Linked DNA regions of Homo sapiens: region 1 is linked to region 2. The links are contacts of gene promoters, found by promoter capture Hi-C in human tissues and cell types (Jung and others, 2019). All regions are on one chromosome and are shown on one strand. Each heading gives the region's core, a stretch centred on a gene start or on the middle of the fragment in contact. The rest is flanking DNA. Distances are from core to core; before and after follow the strand shown.

What was found. Contacts are between HindIII fragments. The study calls those that stand out against the background at their distance.
Region 1: a contact is called between a fragment that was not itself captured here and the fragment with the promoter of DPPA4 in region 2, in 1 of the 25 tissues and cell types used here (dorsolateral prefrontal cortex).

The regions. Positions count from the first base shown.
Region 1 is chr3:111,308,474-111,312,318 of GRCh38, forward strand. No RefSeq gene overlaps it. Among named protein-coding and RNA genes, the nearest start is that of CD96, 230 kb to the right of the region's middle. The HindIII fragment of the contact is 4,087 bases long and covers 1-3,532 here.
Region 2 is chr3:109,335,023-109,338,822 of GRCh38, forward strand. DPPA4 (developmental pluripotency associated 4) reads right to left here and starts at 2,524. Exons shown (of 7, transcript NM_018189.4): 1 at 2,442-2,524. The coding sequence starts at 2,495. RefSeq lists enhancers at 804-1,412, 1,413-2,021, 2,022-2,629. The HindIII fragment of the contact is 13,883 bases long and covers 1-3,800 here.

The DNA of each region.
Region 1 (3,845 bases), core at 239-2,738, 2.0 Mb after region 2:
ATAAAATAGGCTGGGCATGGTGGCTCACACCTGTAATCCTAGCACTTTGGGAAGCCAAGGCGGGAGGATCACAAGGTCAAGAGATCGAGACCATCCTGGCTAACACGGTGAAACCCTGTCTCTACTAGAAATACAAAAAAAAAAAAAAAAATTAGCCAGGCGTGGTGGCGGGCACCTGTAGTCCCAGCTACTAGGGAGGCTGAGGCAGGAGAAAGGCGTGAAACCAGGAGGCAGAGCTTGCAGCCTGGGCGACAGAGCAAGATTCCATCTCAAAAAAGCAAAACAAAACAAAACAAAAACAAAAACAAAAACAACCCAAAAGGTTAGGAGTTAATAAGCCTTCTCTTGATGTTGACAATGTTACCACAATAAGACACCACTACTGATAGAATAAAAACAGCAAGACAGGGGGGGATGCATTTCTCCTAAACAGGCTGACACATGGAAACCTATCAATTACATGTGTAGGATCCATGACATTGATCAGGTAGAGTCTGTCTCTCTGAATGCTCAAACTTTCACTTTGAGGATGAATCCTTTTCTGCTGTGGGTACACCACACTCCAGGTGGTACACTCCACTGTGAGATTTGCCAAAGGGTGACCAGTTATAATAACTTTAAAGTTTCAATGCTTAATTTTGAGTAAATGGTTTACACTTTGATTCCTGAATCACTGTTCTCAGTTCACTCAAAAGGAGGCACGCAAATCATTACCGCTACTCCTGAGTATGTGTTTTTTAAGTGGGACAGGGTGGGCACTTCAGCAAGTGTCATAGAGGAGAAAACAAATACCTCAGTTAATTGCTTCTGTTTGACTTTCTCTTCAATCCACACATCAGACAAGACCAGACAAACAACTACGCTTGCTTTTTATATATAGTCCTGCCAATGAGGAGCTGTGTAGATAATGTGTTAAATGGAGAAAATAGAAAAAGAATAAGATAAAAACCTAGTGGATCAGAGGAATCCATGTAGAAGACACAGGACTGGATTCCATGGTGTAAGACCTTTGTGCATTTACAGCTCCTGGGAGGAATGCTCTCTCTCCTTCCTAGGCCAAATGACTGTGGGAAGCACTGTAGGACAGACAGTGGGAAGGTGGACTCTGGAGCCAGATTCCTGTATTTCACTTCCTTTACTGATGATGTGATGGTGTGCCTTTGGGCAATCCCAATCACCCTTTACCCTACATCCAACATCAGTAGAATTTGGATAATAGTTGTGCCAACATTATAAGGTTGTTATGAGATTAAATATTATATATATGTGTGTGTACATACACACCCACACACATAAAGCACTTAGCACACTTAGCACATAGTAAGAGCTCAATAACCATTACTTCTTATTATAGAAAAAAGAAAGGAGACCAACTCTTATTGAATACCTACTATACGCCAGGAATTGCACTAAGGACTTTCACATCTCCTCATTTCCTCCCACAAAAACTCTATAAGGTAACTAGTTAGAATACTTAAATGGCCTACCCAAAAAACAAGCAGCTAATCTGTGGAAGAGCCTAGGTTTAAAATCAGACCTTTATTTCATGATAGGATACTTCATGTCCTGTGATTCAGGGTTTGATACACAGGAAGAAAATGAATAATACATAATTATTTTAGAAGTCAATCTCTCTGGGAGCTAATGAGCTGCCAGGGTTCTTCTTCTATTTGAGATGATCTAAGTATAGGTGGTTGGAACTCTGCCCACCTATATTAGTAAGGGAAGGCTTGCTGCTGGAAGAAATAACTCCCAGATTTCAGTGGCTTTGCACAATATTTTATTGTGCTCACATTGAGTCCAATCAGTGTTAGAGGAAGGGTAGGGATGGAGCTTCTGCATTTAGGCACTGAGGCTTCCTCCTCCTTGCCAGTCCTGGAGTCCTCTATTGATTTCCCAGGCTGCAGCTGGAAAATGAGGGAAAAGAGTGAGTATGGCACATTTGGACTACTTATGGGCTAGGCTTGGAGGTGGACATAATTCTGCCCATATGTCTAATTGCCGGAACTTGGCTACCTACAAAGGAGAATGAAACAATAGTTTAAATGAATGCACTGGAAGAAAATAGCTTGTATGACTAGATAATTCATGCCACAGTTTATTCTCCTGGTCACTAAATATGAATTTTACTCTTTCTCCCATGTATAAGATCCATCCTTCTTCTCCTGAAGGCAGATGACTCTAAGTCTCAGCCAGTTCCTACATCCCACTCAAAGTCCAGCATTTATGGGAAATGTATGTCCTTACCAGGCTTAGATGTGGAGACTCTGCTGACTTATGAAGTGAAATAATAAGTTATCAGTTTCCCACTCTTCACTCCTCCACTCCACCCTCCTCCCCCAACAATGCTCAAGCAATATGGGAAAGGGCAGAATAAGAGACACAGAGCTACCACAGGTCTGCTGTATATTTCTGAAATCCTCCTGGCCAGGTATTTTAAAGGGCCCTCTCTGAGTGGAGAAGTTACTTGATCAGCCCTAGAATCTGTGTTCAGGAAGAAACTCCCCTCTCTCTCATTCTCTGTGACTCCTGCTCTACCCACTGGGAAGTTTATCCTTCTCTGTTTTCCTCCATGGCCATATCTGAAGGGGGCACAGGGAGTGCAATCTTCTTGGGAGCTCTACAGCTTTCACAGCCTGCTTCCTGCTCATACAAGTTTGGGGACCCAAGAATTGTTTTAAGCCATAAACAAACAGAGATGCCTTGTTAGAGCAAAAATATTATTAATTCAGCAATATAACTTCCTGAAAGACTGAATAGGCTTCTGATCTATTTGCCTTATCTAATCAGTACCATGCAAGAGCAAACATGCTCAAGTTCTTTCCTAGACATAATTCTCAAGCCTGATTTCATTTTCTTTTTCATCTCTATGCAACCCTCTCTCAACTTCCTGGCAGCTAACTTGAGGCTCACTGAAACAATAGGTTTGAATGCCAAGGTGATCCCCTTATTCTGCTCTTTGCTGCAACACCACTCTGGTGTGTTTAAGCAAGAGTTTTGGTGGGTCTTTGCAGTTTGGGACCTTTTCCAGTCTTATCTCTTAGAATTTGGAGTCCAGAAGCAGCTGGATTTCCAAACTTGTAAGACTTTTTATTTTTAGACTTTATTCCTTTTAATCTATTCATGAAAAACACTTATTTCTTGTCTGAGCTCCTGTACTGAAGGCATTTAATTGTAAGCCACAACACGCTTTCACTCTACTTCTTTCCAACCACTTTTCTTACAGCTTTAGGCTCAGAGGCATGTGCTCCTTTCCTTCAGTTATTGCAGACGACACTTACATGAAATACTGGGCCAGAGAATAGCAAGACTCTCTAACTGTAGCTCGCTCTTTTTATTTCATCACTGTCTGCTATCTGACCACTGAAACAATAGCACACATCTTGGGCTTTCACTAAGTCAGCATTCCACTTCCTGTCTTGATTCCTGTATTAGAGACAGTTAACTACTGGAACTGATAACCCCAAAATATCTGTGGTTACACACTAGAAGTTTGTTTCTTCTTCATGTAAAGTACAATTGGCAGCAGGGGTATAGTAGGGCTCCTGTGTACACAGGCACTCAGAAACCCAGTTTCCTCTTTTCTTGTGACTCTATCATTGCCTAGGCCTCTGGTTCAGTGATGGGTTGATTTTCTGTATCAGGTCTCAGACTGCCTAGACATGAATCACATCATCCACATTCTATTGGCCAGAAAGCATCAACAGCCACATTTAATTGCAACACAAGATGGAAAACATAGTCTAACTGTTTGCCTGGGAATAAAAAAATAAGTTCGCTAAAGAGCAAGGCTGTCTCCACCACACTATCTCTGCCCCAGGCACTGAGATGCCATCAGCTGTGGC
Region 2 (3,800 bases), core at 1,274-3,773:
GGTTCATTGAATTAAAGGAAGCAAAGTGGGAGTGGGGAAAAGTTGTTTAATCCAGAGACAGTAACATATATTGAGCCTCTGTCTCATACTAGGCATTGGCTTTGATATGCTCCTCACTTTCATTTTTTTAAAAAATATTTATTTATTAAAGAAAAGGTCTTGCCCTGTCACACAGGCTGGAGTGCAGTGACAGGACCATAGCTCACTCCAAGCTCTACCTCCCGGGTTCAAGTGATCTTTTGCCTCAGCCTCCTGAGCAGGTGGGACTACAGGATAATTTTTTGTAGAGGTGAGGTCTCCCTATGTCTCCCCCCACTGATCTCAATCTTCTAGCCTCAAGCAATCTTCCCGCCTTGGCTCCCCAAAGAGTTGGGATTAAAGGCGCGAGCCACTGCGCCCAAGGGTTCCCTATTTTCTTTTTCTCTGAGAGGAGTCTCGCTCTGTCACCCCGGCTGTAGTGCAGTGGTCCAATCTCGGCTCACTGCAACTTCCATCTCCCCGGTTTAAGCAATTCTCTGCCTCAGCCTCCCCACTAGCTGGAATTACAGGCGCCTGCCACCACACCCGGCTGAATTTTTCTATTTTTAGTAGAGATGGGGGTTTCACCATGTTGGCCAGGCTGGTCTCAAACTCCTGGCCTCAAGTGATCCGCCCACCTCAGCCTCCCAAAGTGCTGGGATTACAGGCGTGTGCCACTGTGCCTGGCCTTGGCCTTCCTTTTTTCATTCATTTAATTCTCATAGCAATCTGGCAACAATTACTTCTCAGACACAGAAGCTGAGAATCAGAGGTAACATAAAGACACAGATTAGGGGTACATTAGATATAAATTAAAATTTAAATATAAAGGCTAGGCTCCGTGGCTCACGCCTGTAATCCCGGCACTTTGGGAGGCCGAGGTGGGCTGACCGATTGAGGTCAGGAGTTCGAGACCAGCCTGGCTAACATATCGAAACTCAGTCACTACCAAAAATACAAAAACTACCTGGGCGTGGTGGTGCGTGCCTGCAATCCCAGCTAATCGAGAGGCTGAGTCAGGAGAATCGCTTGAACCCGGGAAGCAGAGGCTGCAGTGAGCCGAGATCGGCTACTGCACACCACTCTGGGCGACAGAGTCAAACTCATTAAAAAAAAAAAATTAATATAATAAAATTTCTCCTAAATCTAAATCCTTTTCTTCACTTTCAGGGTGGATTACTGGACAAATTAACATTTGTATGGCATTTTTACATCTCTATAGCAGTTCTACATTTTGATTTGAAATTTATATTTGCATAAACCTTACAAAAAGTACTCACTTTGGACCTCACAAAAGACTTAAAACCGAGACAGTTAAAAATGACCCAGTTCAAGTCAAGAGGACCTGAGAGCGCTCGGATATGGCCGTTCAGTGCCTGTGCAACGTCTTAAATCCTCTCTTCCTTCAGTTTCTGTCTGCATTGTTCCCAATGTCTGGCTTCTGATTACTCCTAGGTCCTAAGGACGCTGGGAAAAGGGGACGAATTCATTCTCAGCACCCTCGGTTTAGGATCTGTGTCCGTCTAAAGGAAATTAAGGGGTTTCATTCTTTTCCAAACTCAGCTCAATTACCTCTTCCTAAAATCTTTCCTTTAACACCCTTTTCTCCTGTTACCATTTCCCTCTAGCCCCCATATTCAGTTAGTTCTTTCTGACAGGACTAAGCACCTCTTCAAAACAGAAAACCCGGGCCGGGAGCAGCGGCGGGCGCCTGCAGTCCCAGTAGCACTTTGGTAAGCCGAGGTGGGAGGATCGTTTGAGCCTGGGCGGTTACAGTGAATAGTGATGGTGCCACTGCACTCCAGCCAGGGAGACAAAAGTGAAACCCTGTTCCAAAACACAAACCTGAAAACCTAATTTTTTAACTTTTTCTTTTGAGGTGGAGTTTCGCTCTGGTTGCCCAAGCTGGGGGTGCAATGGGGCGATCTCGGCTCACCGCAACCCCCGACTCCCGGGTTCAAGCGATTCTCCTGCCTCAGCCTCCCGAGTAGCTGGGATTACAGGTGTGCGCCACCACACCTGGCTAATTTTGTACTTTTAGTAGAGACGGGGTTTCTCCATTTTGGTCAGGCTGGTCTCGAACTCCCGACCTCAGGTGATCCGCCCGCCTCGGCTGCCCAAAGTGCTGGGATTACAGGCGTGAGCCACCGCGCCCGGCCTCTTTTTTTTTTTTCCCCATCTTTTGACACACTCAACCTCCTCAACTAAACCTAGAAAACCTCATTTCTTACTTGTCTGCTCACTCCAATATACCAGGCTGCAATCATATTCTTGGGCCTTACTCTTAAAATAAAAAAAAAAAAAGTCAAGAGGAGAAAATTCGAAGGCACATTCTTTTCTCCTTAAAGGAAAAATCAGGAGTGCCCAGGGAAGACAGAAACACAAAGACAGACAGAAAACAAATCCACTAAAACTGTACTGACCTCCTTGCCTTTTGCCTTCTCCATACTTGTAGAAGAAGCGGAGCCTCGCAACATGCTTCCAAAATGGCCCCTGCCCCAAGATTGCTATTTGCAAAGTCTCCTCCCACTTCCTGCCGCCCGAAGACCCTTTTTCTCTCCACCTCACCTCTTCTTTTCTTCTCCCCTTCTGTTCCCTCCCCCACAATTTGTAAATGCTAAAATTGCATTCTTTCTTATTCATGGGGTGACTTTTGTCTGGGTTGAATTACTAATACTATTCCTGGCCCTTTTCTGTTCACTTTAAATGTAATTATCCAAAGTATGGTTCCGGAGACATTGGGAGATTGAGCACTCCTTCAGAACGATTCTACGGGGAAAAAAAACAAAAAACAAAAAACAAAAAAACAGTGGCCAGAGACTTGAGCAGGATGTGTGAAGGGATTTAATAATGGAACTTGTGGCAACAGTAGACTTCAGAGACCAGACTGGCGGCTTGAAGAAAGCTATTTTCTCGTACCAAATACATTCCATTTCCTAAGTAAGTTACTCAACCAACTAAAACTCCAGGTTTCTCTGTACTAATACCGAGCATCTTTTCATCTGCCAACGAACTAATAATAGTAGCTTTTAAAGTCTATAGAGTATTTGTTATTTATTTTGTAGAGGGCAAGTGGGGGGGTCTGGCTATTTTGACCTGGCTGGTCTCGAACTCCTGCCCTCAAGTAATTCTCCAGCCTTGTCCTCCCAAAGTGTTGGGATTACAGGCGTGAGCCACCACTCCCCGCCCGAGTATTTTTTTATATCTCAAATTGTGAGTTTTAAATTCAGTCATTATTGTTCCCCATTTTATATATGACTAAAGTTGGTATAAATTTTTATTGGTAACTTTTTCAATAGCACAGTAAGTGAACCCCTAACCTACTGACTCCCAAAGAAGTTCAAGTTTTTCTCCTTAAAATAATTTGAAAAATCTTTCCTCAGATCAGTGCTCCCTGTCAGATTGTCAAGAGATGTGAAGTGAAGGAAGCAGTGGCTGTGCGACTGAAACCCTCCCTTGTCAGGGTCCAAAGTCTCTTTTGTTCTTTGGTTTACTTTGTTGTTTTTTTTTCCTACATCTCATTGCTTGTCCTAAAATGATAAATAAGAGACTGTCTTTATCCAAATGGTGTTAGTAATCTGCTCACAGGCTAGAAATCCACGGACAGAAAAAGTAAGTAAACGGAGCCCAGGAATAGAGAAGGAAGTGCAGGTTGTGGACTGGGCAACCCCCAAGGCGGCAAAGAGGAAACCAGGTGAGTTGAGGTCATCTGGGAGATATTAGGGCTTTGATTTAACAATTCTTTACCACAGCCTTTGGTAACCACCAGTAGGACTTTCTAA